Regions from separate parts of the Homo sapiens genome. Here regions 1, 2, 3 and 4 are each linked to region 5. The links are contacts of gene promoters, found by promoter capture Hi-C in blood cells and fetal thymus (Javierre and others, 2016). All regions are on one chromosome and are shown on one strand. Each heading gives the region's core, a stretch centred on a gene start or on the middle of the fragment in contact. The rest is flanking DNA. Distances are from core to core; before and after follow the strand shown.

Evidence for each region. Contacts are between HindIII fragments. The CHiCAGO score rates a contact against its expected background, and 5 or more counts as called.
Region 1: a contact is called between a fragment that was not itself captured here and the fragment with the promoter of CARMIL1 in region 5, in 16 of 17 cell types (M2 macrophages, megakaryocytes, M0 macrophages and 13 more). The highest score is 12.3, in M2 macrophages.
Region 2: a fragment that was not itself captured here is called in contact with the fragment with the promoter of CARMIL1 in region 5 in 7 of 17 cell types (M2 macrophages, total CD8 T cells, M0 macrophages and 4 more); the score reaches 8.6 in M2 macrophages.
Region 3: a fragment that was not itself captured here is called in contact with the fragment with the promoter of CARMIL1 in region 5 in 15 of 17 cell types (naive CD4 T cells, megakaryocytes, total CD8 T cells and 12 more); the score reaches 15.8 in naive CD4 T cells.
Region 4: a contact is called between a fragment that was not itself captured here and the fragment with the promoter of CARMIL1 in region 5, in 10 of 17 cell types (naive CD4 T cells, non-activated CD4 T cells, naive CD8 T cells and 7 more). The highest score is 8.4, in naive CD4 T cells.

What each region holds. Positions count from the first base shown.
Region 1 is chr6:25,509,039-25,511,738 of GRCh38, reverse strand. CARMIL1 (capping protein regulator and myosin 1 linker 1) reads right to left here. Exons shown (of 37, transcript NM_017640.6): 18 at 2,002-2,083; 19 at 1,133-1,232; 20 at 977-1,031. Among named protein-coding and RNA genes, the nearest start is that of SCGN, 140 kb to the left of the region's middle. The HindIII fragment of the contact is 588 bases long and covers 1,078-1,665 here.
Region 2 is chr6:25,445,228-25,448,084 of GRCh38, reverse strand. The region is part of intron 5 of CARMIL1 (capping protein regulator and myosin 1 linker 1); the gene reads right to left. It also overlaps a transcript of LOC124901281 not described here. Among named protein-coding and RNA genes, the nearest start is that of CARMIL1, 170 kb to the right of the region's middle. The HindIII fragment of the contact is 535 bases long and covers 1,334-1,868 here.
Region 3 is chr6:25,477,763-25,480,462 of GRCh38, reverse strand. All of the region lies in intron 11 of CARMIL1 (capping protein regulator and myosin 1 linker 1), which reads right to left. Among named protein-coding and RNA genes, the nearest start is that of SCGN, 170 kb to the left of the region's middle. The HindIII fragment of the contact is 4,769 bases long and covers 1-2,700 here.
Region 4 is chr6:25,461,672-25,464,371 of GRCh38, reverse strand. The region is part of intron 8 of CARMIL1 (capping protein regulator and myosin 1 linker 1); the gene reads right to left. Among named protein-coding and RNA genes, the nearest start is that of CARMIL1, 180 kb to the right of the region's middle. RefSeq lists a silencer at 724-924 and an enhancer at 1,392-1,928. The HindIII fragment of the contact is 8,941 bases long and covers 1-2,700 here.
Region 5 is chr6:25,278,065-25,280,764 of GRCh38, reverse strand. CARMIL1 (capping protein regulator and myosin 1 linker 1) reads right to left here and starts at 1,391. Exons shown (of 37, transcript NM_017640.6): 1 at 930-1,391. The coding sequence starts at 969. RefSeq lists a silencer at 1,194-1,663. The HindIII fragment of the contact is 9,381 bases long and covers 1-2,700 here.

The DNA of each region.
Region 1 (2,700 bases), core at 122-2,621, 230 kb before region 5:
GTGTCTATCCTTCCTGGCCTCTTAGCTTTCACAGAAAAGTCAGCTTAAAGCTGTGATAGAATTTGCTCTTCCCTGGTATGAATTCAGGAGGGAAAATGATACTTTTTCCAAATGTGACATACTCCACATGATTAATATAAAAATCATCCTCATGACCTACAAAAGTAGCTATTACAAAACATGAGTAATGTGACTCTTCATAGTAGGAATACAAATTCATCTGAGTTTTAGGAACTGGAAAAGCTGAGTCTGGTGACCAAATAGGACTTTGAGAGGAAACGGACAAAATCTTAGAGAGCATCAGTAAAATATAAGGTGTAACACACCAGCTCTAAATCAAATGGATTCATGGTAGACTGCTTCTTATTTTGTCCATAAAATAACTTTTCTTTCTCCTAATCCATTTTCAAGGACAGCAAAATAAGATACTATTTGAAATTAAACTTCTTTACCCTGAACTAAATTTTGGTCAGGAGCAACGAAAGGGGATTAAAAATACAGAGTGCTACTAGACTTCAAGAAGCAATTAAAGATGGAAGAAAACTTCCTTGGTCCCCTATAATTCCACATAATTATTAGATGAAATTCAAATTAGCAATATGATATTTCTCAGCATTATATAAGGTCATAAAGTCAACTAGAATGTAAAAATTCATGCCTGAAGATTAGTTTATTAGCTAAAGTTAGGGAGTAGTAAGGCTAATTAAAAGATAGGCTCAGGAGTCAATTTATACTTCTTTTTATCTATTAGTGACAATCTTCCTTTAATTGACAGTGAGTTGAATAAAGTAAAAAAAGTTTTTAAATACATTCTACAACTCTACTAAAGTGTATTTATTCCATTTTTAAAAAGTAATGGAAAATGTACACGTTGATAAAACTATCTGAAAGTATTTCAGCATTAATCCAGTAGAAATAATCAGTAAGAATGGCAACAAACAGAAGATTTTAGTAAAAAGTTTAACATAATACTCACTGATTCTTCATCTTGAATCATCTGTACTAAGTTGTCCAATACAGGTGTCAGATTTCTAAAGAGATTTTAGAGATGTGGACAGTGGAATCAAATCAAAAGCTTTCAGGAGGCTGGTTATTTTCATCATTGTCATATAAAAAAATTCAAAACTCTTACTTGGATTTCATATTATTAAAATTTTTGCCTAACGCCAGGTGTTGTATTGATCTGTTTTTACTGAGCCACACTATTAAGGTAGATAGGTCAGATTCTAAACCTGGAAAGAATCAGAGTAAGTAGAACATCAAAACACATGTGTATAAATTAATTTTCAGCTGGAACACAATTAAGCAAAGGTGACATATAGTTGGATGACTTCCTTTACCTTCCTGAGGGGCCTGGGATTCTAATCTTTTATTTTCAAAGGCACTCTTTGCTCTCTTTTCATGTCCTATTATTTCACAGGGATAAACTCATTCTCTACAAAGACTTATCTAAATCTCTTATACAATCAGTGGCTAAACCAAGTCAGCAGGAAATGGGAATGAATAATGGCAGAAAGTTTCATCTCTCCCCACCACTCTGTGAGAGAAGATTCCAACAAACTGTTCACTGTGAGGTAAGTGGAGTTAAAGTTGTCTATGCAAATTTCACAGGTTCATACTAACATGATACTACAATCAGCAGAAATGAAGCTAATGAAATAAGCTTTTGAATAAATAAACAAGAGTACAATTTTATTATCAGCAAGAATGCAAAAAGTTGGTCTCAGACCCTTTTCAATGTACTGGTGATATTTTTATAACTGAGTTGTTTTACTGCATAGACTTTGCATAGTTGGCCACAGAGTCAACTTAGTAAGACTCTGGCACAGATCTATTCTACAAATATACCCCATTGTTAAATTTAAAAGCCCTATTAGTCAAAAAATAAAAAACAATTTTTTTATTAAGCTATTGTTTGGATTTGGGTAGAAGATTATTTTCCCCTTATTAACTTGCTTCAAAAAATATTTCAGTTTCATTTCTTTTCAATATCTGACTTACCATTGTCAGAGATGTCTAAGCTGGTGATGTTGTGTATTTCAGCAATGCAACCTTCTAATACTTGAGCACCTCCTGATCTCAGCTAGAGAAACACAAACCAAACACAAAGTAAAGTCTTCACTCTACTGGAGATGTAATCAAAAAATTAAAAATAGGAGAGACAGTCAGTCTTAAAATAAACTTAGTACCAAAGAAAAAGTAAAAGCTTATCAACTCCAAAGAAGCTATTATCAGTGGGTAAAGAGCCTATCACTAGCCATTGCTGCTGTTTCCTATGCCATGTGATCCCACATTAAATCCTAAAAACATTAGAAAAAAACAAAAGAGAAACAAGATGACCACCACCCACGCCACTATAGTAGCAAAGCAGTGCATTATCAACCCAGAAGAATTTCTTCATTTCTGACTTTTGGAAATTTAATAAATTCATTTTATACATGAGAAAGTTACTGTTTTATTTGACTGTTACCGATTCCAAGGTGTAAACTCTCCACCCAACCAAAGGAGACAATGAAGACTTACTTTGATTGTCAAACATTTTAGGAAGGACCCATCCCTACCTGTTCTAAGACATGAGTGTGAGTTCTCACTCATAAGGCAGATATTAGCTAACTAAAGATGACTGCAAAATGATTTGTACAAATGCTTCGAGCCATGGATGGAAAAATGTTAAATTAATATAAAATATTATTATCATGA
Region 2 (2,857 bases), core at 352-2,851, 170 kb before region 5:
AGCTGAGAGTGAAGATCATGGATTCTTGGTGGTTCAGGGCTAAATAGCTGTGGGATTTCCTCCTGCAGCCCTCAGCAGCCAAAATGTATATGGAGAGGTGGGCAGCTGGCTTGCTGCAGGATGCAGGATTTCCAGGTGGGTGTGTCAGAAAAACAGTGTGGACAGAAGGAGCAGAGGATACTGACAAGGCCTAGGTGAAGTCATGGATGTTGTGGGCTGAGCAGTTAAGAATGGACAGGAAGGCAGGATGGGGGTGGCAGAAGAAGAGAAAGCCAAGCCACCCCCAGTCTGGAGGCCTTGAAAAAGTCCAAATACTGGTACTTCCAGGGGAGAGGAAGTGAAAGGCTGTAGTCAGAGGGGGAGGGCTGTTTTTTCACCATGGAATAAGCTGTTCCAGGAGATGACAAGGTCATGTGGCCACAAAAGCAAGTGGAAGTAGGGTAGAGGTGAAGAGGTCATGAGCTGTGAGGAAGGGTGTCAGGGTGTCAGTCACCCAGTACCATGACAGGACGTGGGTGAGAGGTGGTGAAATAAATATATTAACTTGTATTGAATATAGTTTCATCTTTAATGATTTCAAGGCACTCTGCTACATACAATGCTCTCAGTCATTCTTATGAATTTCCATCACCTTGCAGAGACTGGAAGAAAATGTTCCCAGTTATTTACATTTTCTGATTGAATGGATGTATTCCAGATAAAATATGCTAGGGCCTGGGAGGTTGCCTGGTTGGGTTGTTCTACTCCTAGAGAAAACCTCAAATACATATCAAATCATTTAAATACATTCTGTTGGCATGGAAAATATTCCTCCTACTTCTTTGTAAGTTTTATGACTAAGACATAATCAGGTTCCGACATACCTCATTTTATTGTATTATACTCACAGGTATTGCATTTTTTGCCAATTGAAGCTTTGTGGCAACCTTGCATTAAGCAAATCTATCAGTGCCATTTTTCCAACAGCATGTGCTCACTTCCTGTCTCTGTGCCACATTCTGGTAATTCTCACAATATCTCAAACTTCCTCATTATTATAATATCTGTTTTGGTGACGTGATCAGTGATCTTTGATGTTACTATTGTAACTATTTTGGGGGACCATGAATCACACCCATATAAGACAGCAAACTTAGCTACTTAAAAGTGTGTGTGATCTCACTGCTCCACTGACAACCATTCCTCTCTGTCTCTCCCTTTCACCAAGCCCATTACTTGAGACACAACAATATTGAAATTAGGCCAATTAATAACCCTGCAATGGCCTCTAAGTGTTCAAGTAAAAGGAATAGTCGCACATCTCTCATTTTAAATCAAAAGCTAGAAACAAGCTTAGTGAGAAAGGCACATGGAAAGCCAAGACAGGCTAAAAATTAGGCCTTTTGCAACAAAAAAATTAGCAAAATTGCAAATGCAAAGGAAAAGTTATTGAAGGAAGTTAAAAGCGCTACTTCCATGAACATGTGAATGATGAGAAAGTGAAACAACTTTATCCCTGAGATGCAGAAAGTTTTAGTGGTCTGGAATGAAACATTCCCTATGCCAAAGCCTAATCCAGAACAAGGCTTTAACTCTCTTCAATTCTATCAAGGCTGAGAGAGGGGAGGAAGCTGAAGTTGGAAGCTACCAAACGTTGGTTCATGAGGTTTAAGGAAAGTTGTCTCCATAACGTAAAAGTACAAGATGAAGGAGCAAGTGCTGATGAAGAAGCTGAAGCAAGTTATCCAGAAGATATAGTTAAGATCATTGATGAAGATGGCTACACTAAACAACTGATTTTCAATGTAGATGAAAGAGCCTCCTACTGGAAGAAGATGTCATCTAGCACTTTCTTAGCTAGGGAGAAGTCAATGGCAGGCTTCAAAGCTTCAAAGGACAGGCTGCCTCTCTTGTTAGTGGCTAATGCAGCTGGTGACTCTAAGTTGAGGCCAATCAGTGCTGATGTTCCATTCCAAAAACCCAAGGCCCTTAAGAATGATGCTAAATCTCCCTGCTTGCACTCCACAATAGAACAAGAAAGCCTGGGTGATAGCAGATCTATTTACAGAATGGTTTACTGAATATTTTAAGCCCACTGTTGAGACCTACTGCTCAGAAAAAGAGATTCCTGTCAAAATGTTACTGCTCATTAACAATGCACCTGGCCACACAAGAGTTCTGATGGAGAAGTACAAAAAAATCCATGTTGTTTTCATGCCTACTAATTCAATATCCATTCTGCAGCCCATGGATCCAGGAATAGGTTTGACTTTCAAGTCTTATTAAGAAATATATTTTGTGTCTGTAATCCCAGCCGAGGCGTGTGGATCACGAGGTCAGGAGATCGAGACCATCCCGGCTAACATGGTGAAACCCCATCTCTACTAAAAATACAAAAAAAAAATTAGCCGGACCTGGTGGCGGGCACCTGTAGTCCCAGTTACTCGGAAGGCTGAGACAGGAGAATGGCATGAACCTGGGAGGCGGAGCTTGCAGTGAGCCGAGATCACGCCACTGCACTCCAGCCTGGGTAACTGAGCAAGACAACAACTCAAAAAAAAAAAAAAAAGAAATATATTTTGTAAGGCAATATAAGCAGCCATAGATAGTGATTCCTCTGATGCATCTGGGCAAAGTAAATTGAAAACCTTCAGAAAAAAATCACCATCATAGATGCCATTGAGAACATTCATGACTCACGGGAAGAGGTCAAAATATCAACATCAACAGGAGTTCCAAAAAAGTTGATTCCAAACCTCATGGATGACCTTGAAGGGTATAAGAGTTTAGTGGAGGAAGTAACTGCAGATATGGTGAAAACAGCAATAGAATTAGAATTAAAAGTGGAGCCTGAAAATGTGAATGAATTGTTGTAATC
Region 3 (2,700 bases), core at 156-2,655, 200 kb before region 5:
TAGCTGCAATAAGACAATTTAAATTTTAAGAAACATTACTAAAGATAAATGGAATATTTCATTAATTAAGAAGATACAATTACTCTAAATCTATGCTCTGATTAACATCATCTGAAAATATATAAAGTAAATCTGACAGTAACAAAAGGAAAATACACATATTACATAAACACACACGCATATATAATAATGGAAGTTTTCTAACACACTTCTATTAGTAGCTAATAAATGAACAGAAAAAGTCAGTAAAGATATAGAAAATATCAAGATCATAATGAAAAAAGATATAACTGATATATTTAAAATGCTGTACCCAGTAACTACAGAATACATTTCTTCAAAGTCCACACTAAATATTTTCCAAAAGGAATCATATACTGAGCCATAAAGAAAGTCTCAACAAATAACAGAATGTTCCTTAGTACTGTGAATTCATACACAGAATATTTGTATGTTCTCTGTTACCACTACTGCAGTTAAAATAGGAATTATAACAATAAGATAATTAGAAAATCCCCAAATAATTATAACTTAAGCAATATATTTCTAAATAACAAAAGAGTCAAAAATCACAGTGGGAATTTTAAAAATATTTTGAGTTAAATCTAAAAACTATGGTATTAAAATCTTTGGGATCTAACTAGAGCCATGCCTAGAGAGAAATCAATAGACCTAAATACATATTTTAAGAAAGATAAAAAACTGGAAAATAATTATCTAATTATCCAGCTCAAAAAACAGCAAATTAATCCTCACCCACCTCTGTAAACAGAAGGAAGGAAAAAAAATAAGAAAAAGGGAAGAATCCAGTTAAATAGATAGCAGCCATAAAAATAAGTAAATTTAACAAAGTTGGTTCTTTAAAAATACTAACAAAATTAATAAACTCCAACAAGACTGGTAAAATAAATAAATGAGAAACAGAGATCAAATTATCAAAATCAAATGAAAAGAGAATGTAAAGATCTTACAGGCGTTGAATTATAACTCGAGGGTATAAACACATCTGTAAGTCAAAAAACTATCATTTTAATAGAAAGGAACAAATCCCTTATGAAAAACATGACAGACCAAAACTAATTTAAGAAGAAGTAAATAATCTCAATAGTTCTCTATCTATTCAAGGAAACAAATCTATTATTAAAAAATCTCTCCACAAAGAGAAGCAAAAGAAGCCACACACAAAGGAGTACATAGGCAAAGAACAGGCAAAGCTCATCCATCATGAGAGAAGTCAGAATAGTAGTTATCTTTTCCAAGTGGTAGAGGACAGGGCTGGTAATCACTGGGGCAAACCACAAGGTAAGTCTGGAGAACGGTGGGAACATTCTGTCTCTTGATCTTGGTAGTGGTTTCTGGGAGAAACAAAAGGCCTCTTCTCTGTTAGAAAGCATACACATTGGAACATTGTGGATGTCAGAGCACAGGTGAGTAAAAATTTTTACATTTCTACCAATTCTATAACTTTCCTGGAGAGTTCAGAAACACTAAGGAAAGTAAGTGAAAAAGCAAAATACAATGAAGTATTTCCATTTCAAAAATAAGGCTGAGAGGAAAAGACTTAGAACCAAGAGTATAAGAATATAGGCATACTGGAAAAAATTGAGTCAATACTTCCAACTTTTAAACGCCCTAAATCTAAATCTATGCCCTTTTTTTTTTTCCCCAAGATGGAGTCCCACTCTGTCACCCAGGCTGGAGTGCAGAGGCGCGATCTCGGCTCACTGCAACCTCCTCCTCCCAGGTTCAAGGGAATCTCCTGCCTCAGCCTCCCGAGTAGCTGAGACTACAGGCACGTGCCACCACGCTCGGCTAATTTTTTGTATTTTTAGTAAAGACGGGGTTTCACTGTGTTAGCCAGGATGGTCTTGATCTCCTGACCTTGTGATCTGCCCGCCTCGGCCTCCCAAAGTGCTAGGATTATAGGCGTGAGCCACCGTGCCCAGCCAATCTATGCCATTTTTAAAATATTGCTTTACCTGTTTAACCATAAAAATATCAATTATTTCATTTAATCCTTAGAACATTCTTATTTGGTAGGTACTATCATTGTATTTTTAATATAAGGAAGCTGAGGTACAGAGAAGGTAGGTAACTTGTCCAAGAACACTTAGCTAGAAAGCTGTGAAGCCAGGAATTAAACCCATGTGTTTCGACTCTGGGACTCACTGATATACACTGAGACATGAAAGACCTAAAACACCAAGAAAAGTAAGCAGCAATCCTAGAATCTATAAGTCTCTTGTCTTATTTAGAAGATCAAATCAGAGCCACCACCAAATAGCTGGGAAAAAATATGAGCGTACTTCAGGTCAACAAAAAACACTAGAGCTAGGATTCTAAATGGTGTCTAAATGAAATAATCGAATTTTGAATAGAGTGAGTGGAGAAGCCTGGGCAACAGAGTGAGACCACATCACTACAAAAAAAAATTTAAAAATTAGCCAGGTGTGGTAGTGCACACCTGCAATCCCAGCTACTTGGGAGACTGAGTGGGGAGGATGGCTTGAGCCCAGGAAATGGAGGTTGCAGTGAGCCATTATTACACCACCATACTCCAGCCTGGGCAACAGAGTGAGACCTTGTCTCAAAAAAAAAAAAAAAAAAAAAGTGATGAGAAGAAGTGAGGACAGACATTTCTGAAAAGGCTGAAATCATAAAAACTAAGGTAATTGGGACAGATAACTAGGAAAAACAGAA
Region 4 (2,700 bases), core at 145-2,644, 180 kb before region 5:
AAACTAGGCCAAAGGGACAGAACTACAGTCAGAACCCTGGCTCTGAAGCACCACATGTGTGCAGTTTCAATAGACATGCTTTAAAAAGATGAGATGAGTGCCCACAGATAGTAGAAAAAAAAAATCCAGAGAAATAGGCAGGCTCAGTCATGTGTTTCCACATGCCAGGTTTTCTACTGACAAGCCTCTTTACTAACTTTGCCTAAGTTTAAAATTTTTTTTAAGTTTTAGATTAAAAAGGAGAACAACTGGCCGGGCGCAGTGGCTCACGCCTGTAATCCCAGCATTTTGGGAGGCCGAGACGGGCGGATCACGAGGTCAGGAGATCGAGACCATCCTGGCTAAAACGGTGAAACCCCGTCTCTACTAAAAATACAAAAAATTAGCCGGGCGTAGTGGCGGGCGCCTGTAGTCCCAGCTACTCGGGAGGCTGAGGCAGGAGAATGGCGTGAACCCGGGAGGCAGAGCTTGCAGTGAGCCGAGATCAGGCCACTGCACTCCAGCCTGGGCGACAGAGCGAGACTCCGTCTCAAAAAAAAAAAAAAAAAAAAAGGAGAACAACTCTTTCAATAGTTATTTTATGGTCTTCCCTCTCTTCGTCCCCCTCCATTGACCACATGCTCTGTGCTCAGAACAAGTTCCTGTATCTCTTCCTATTGCCTAATTACAGGTTGTAGCTTCTCTAAGGGTGAATTCCATCTTATTACAGAGTCCCCAAAGCCCACGCTGAGCGTTCTCTTGTATATTTCAACATTCAGAATGATGGCAAAGCAGTCTCATCTTTTTTGTGGATTTAATGTCAAGGAGTGACCACACTTCAGAACCACTTTTTGTGTATTCTGTTCTGTCCCATGATCTGATTTGAAGTATAACTGGCTTTTGTCATAGATGAAGTCATTTTCAGGAACTGAAGGCACATCACTCTACGGAATCATGAATGCAGTGAGTAAAACAGCATCATCTCTACATACCACAATACTCAACACCAAAAATGCTTATGGTTCAATATTAAATTTTTAAGGTATACAGCATTCTAAAGTGAACATCTGTGTGATATAATATATAATTGGGATTAATAAAATCTACATATAAAAAAAGATATAAATGCTAACAAATATAGACTTTTCTTAAAAAAAGAAAGAAATATAGCCAAATGTCATAAGGATACCTTGTTAGCATTCAAGGTGATATTAATGTCTTCTAACAAAATTATTATGTTTTTAAATTGTTCTATGATTCATATTCATAATCTGTTTTACAAGATTAAATCTTCCATGGATGATATAAACAAACTTTTGCTCTAGAAAAAGTTATTCATGAGGAGGATGGAGACTAAGCATATTGGCATGGTTTGCCTACCATGTTTCTCTAAATTGTGTTAATGCCTAGGCTTCTTATGTTAAAAAAACAATTAGAAGGAGACAATGACATATCATATTCAGCAGATATTTATTTAGTCCTTAGTACTAGGCAGGGTTATTAGGCTCTGAGAGCTAAGAGATGAAAAAGAAGTGTAGCTCTTATTCCTCTATCGCACTTCACTGGTAAAGAAAAACCCCTTCTCAACTATCTGTAATACAACGAAAGACGAGAGACTTGCTGAATAGGGAAAATGTTAAAAAACAAACAAACAAAAAGCCCTAAGAGCACAGCAGGACAGCAAGTAATTCGGCCTGAAGTAAATGGGGAATGGCTCACCGGCTTAAAAGATCAGAAGGAAACCAACCAGCCAGGGAGAAAGAGTATTTTAAGAAATTAGGAATAGCACGTACAACAGCATGGGGAACCTGAGCATATCCAGCAATTCCATTCATTCTTATGTTCAACAAATGCCGCCATCATGCATGAATCACTGGGCCTGATGCAAAAATGAACATAGAAAATGGTCCCTGCCCTGATGGCCTGGCACAGCCTAGCAGGAGACTCAGGAAGGAAAAGCAGCTATAACACAGTGAAACAAGCCCTAGTGAGGTAGGGGGAATACAAAATACTATGTGTGCATATAAAAGGGGTGCTAATCAAGACAACCAAGTTGAGAAAGAGGATGTTACTGAGCCCTCAGAGATGAGGGAGTGGGATGAGACACATATTATAAGCAGAAGAAACAGGCAACAGAGTAAGGTATGGCTTAGTCTAAGAGTTTTTAGATCTTCGAAAAGCAAAATACAAAAATAAAAAAATCGATAAACTGGACTTTATTCAAAATTAAAAACTTTTGCTCTACAAAAGATGTCAAGAGAAGAAAAAGATAAGCCACATGCTGACAGAAAATATTTACAAATCCCATTTCTGAAAAAGGAATTGTATCCAAAATGCATAAAGAACTATCAAAAATAAAAAACAATCACCCCATTTTTTTAAATGAGCAAAAGATCTAAACAGACACTTCACTAAATAAGATATATGTATAGCAAATAAGCACATGAAAGGATGCTCACAATTAGTAGCATTAGAAAAATGCATTAGGGAAAAACCAAAAAGAGATGCACGGTTTAAAAAAGAGAAAAAATAAATTTAAAAAAACCTGACAATACCAATTGCTAATAAGGACCCAGAGCAACTGGAACTCTCAAATGGAGCCAATGAGGATGCAAAATGATACACTCAATGGGGAAAACAGTTTGACAGCATCTTATTAGGTTTAACAGATACTTGACATCTGATCCAGCAATCCCATTTCTAGGAAATTCCCCAAGAAAA
Region 5 (2,700 bases), core at 142-2,641:
CAGACGCACATACCTTGTTACAGTATAACATGCTACACACATATACATGCTTAAACGCTAGGTTTTCAGAACACTCTCCCATCCTATTTCAGCTCTGCCATTTTAACCCTCCAGATAATTAAGTTAAACCCCAAGACTTAACCAGCCCCGCCCCCACCACCACCAAAAAAAAAAAAACCTCAAGGTACTCAAACAATGGGTCACCTTGCACAGCGTAACACACACGGGTTCCCTAAGAGATCCCCTATAGGGAGAATCGGTAGGTTAATCATTATTAAAATAAGGCTTTTATCATTAACCCTCTATTTCCTGGCCTGAGTCTGCGTCAGCCCTGTAACCCTTTCGCTCCCAGCTGGCTACACCAAGCCACACCTTGCCAAGCCCAGTCATTTTACCAGACTAGCGCCCACTCCCCCAAGTCTGCGTGTCAGAAGATCACCTCCCGCGGGGCATTTTCAGGAAAGCGCCTGACACGTGCCGGAGACGACCTACTGTGCGCTCGCCACCTGTCCTTCCAATAGGCTTTCCCGGACTTTCCCGAGTTTGGGGCAGTGGGCTGGGAGCTGTAAAGGGCTCCCCTCGCTTGCAGAACTCCCAAGTCTAAGATGGCCCGCCCCCTTCTTTCGCCAACCTGGATCCCCGCTTCCGGGCAAGAGGAGGTGCCCAGGGCTCACAGTCGAGACCCTCCTCCCACCCACCTCCCGAGGACTCCCGATTCCTCCCCGAAGCCTTCCCTCTCTGCACTTGGCTCTACAGGCGGTCGGATGGGAACAAACTTCCCGGCACCCCCAGTGACCCTGCCCAACACCACTCTGCCCTAAGGGGCGCCAAGACTTCTCGAGACCTGCGGGAAAGCAGAGGTGGGAAGGGAGAGAGAGGTGAGGAGTACGCAGAGGAAGGTGGAAAACCAACAACCGCGTGAATCTTACCTATCAACTCCCTGGGAACGTCAGAGCTCTCCTCGGTCATGGTTGCCCTGTAGGTGTGGGGGTTATTGCAGGTCCAACTCTGATTTATGGCCCCCTGCCCTTCCCCGAACTCCTCAATTTTTTTAGAGAGGCAGATGCAGCTTGCAAATGGAAGTGGGCAAGAAAAGGGGGGGCGGAGACAGAATTTTGCCGCGCGCCCCCCGCCCCACCAAAAAAAAAAAAAAGAGTTGCAAATGCGAGGCGGATTTGCTGCTGCTGCTACATGACGCCTCCTCGCAGTTCCCGGCGGCTGAATAAGGAGCGGACCGGATTACAAGCGGGCGCGGGGCGCGGGGCGGCTGTGGCGCCTGCTCCTCCTCCCGGCTCGCTGGTCCCCGGCGGGGCTTGGGCCGGCGTAGCTCCCGCCCAGCCTCCGCGCCGCACCTACAGCCCTAGGTGAAAGCGGAAGGCGTGGGAGAGGGCGGGGAGAGCGGCGCGGGGCGGGGGGAGTAGGTTTTCCTCGCGCTCCTGCCGGGCTCCGGCTGGGCGGGGGCAGCTCCGGCCCTCCTCCTTCTCCTCCTTCTCCTTCTCCTCTTCCTCCTGCGTTTCCTCCTCACCTCGCGAGAGCCGGCCTCCGCACCGGTGCGAGGCCGGCCTCCGGTGCCCGAGCGCTGGGTCCCCGGCGTAGGTCGCACCCCCAGGAGAGACGCTGTGCGGTGCTGCGGTGGCGGCGGCGGGCACCGCGCCCCTCCTCGCAGCCTCCCTCCCAAACCGCAAAAGCCCTGCGTCTGGAGAGGGGGCGAGCGGGCTCGCGAGAGAGCCCGGGAGCCATCTGCTGGCTGCGAGGGAGGAGAGCCGGGTGAGCCGGGCTTTCCATTTCCTTGTCCCCACTCCGGGCGGGCCAGGGGACCCAGAAGACGGGAGACGGCAGATTCTGCAGACCCGTCTACACGGAAGCTGGTTCTTTTTGGGACCCTCTTACGCACTTTTTCTTTTTCAACCCTCCCGGTGACATGTCACTTCATCATCGCTATTCTTCATTTCTGATGAGCTAGACGAAACCTGTGAACACTAATCATACCGTGAGAAGACACTTGTGTGTGTGCGTTCAGCTGGTGCTCTGCAGCCGCAGTTCGCTATCTCAGACATTCCCGTTGAGAGCGCCTTGGAAAATGCCTTTCACTCGGAAAAGTCTCTTTTATCCTCGGGGCATATTCAGGAAGCTGAGCTTTAATCACTGGAGCCTATGTAAGCCTGCGGATAGGTCTGATCCTACCTGGGCCCAAACTCCCTATGACTTCCCTGAGCTCCATCCCCAGAGGTTCAACTTCAGGGCCAAGAATACTTTGTGCCTCAATCGCTGCTTTTTAGCCTAGGGCTGGGAATGTCCCAGACTGTCTAATCAGGTTCTGCTTTTAAAGGACAGAAAAGGAGGAAAGGAAAGGGAATCCATGCACTTGGCAATCTAATTTTAAACACTGCTGTTGACCTTGGACCCCTTAGAATCATCTTCAGCCCCACAGCCAGGCCTTACCACTAAGGATTTGCCAACCTGGCCCCTTCCCACCCTCCTTAACCTCTCCCACTCCCTTCTCTATTACAACCAGACTCACTGTTTGCTTCCTCCTTCCTCTTAAGGTTATCTGATTCTTATCTATGTTTTCAAACCCATCCCAATGGTCTACCTTCTTTGTGAATATTTTCCAGGGATTTTCAGATTACTGTGATCCCTAAGCCTCTACAATATGTATTGCCTGAAACACTTTTCTAAACCCAACCATATGGTGTCGTG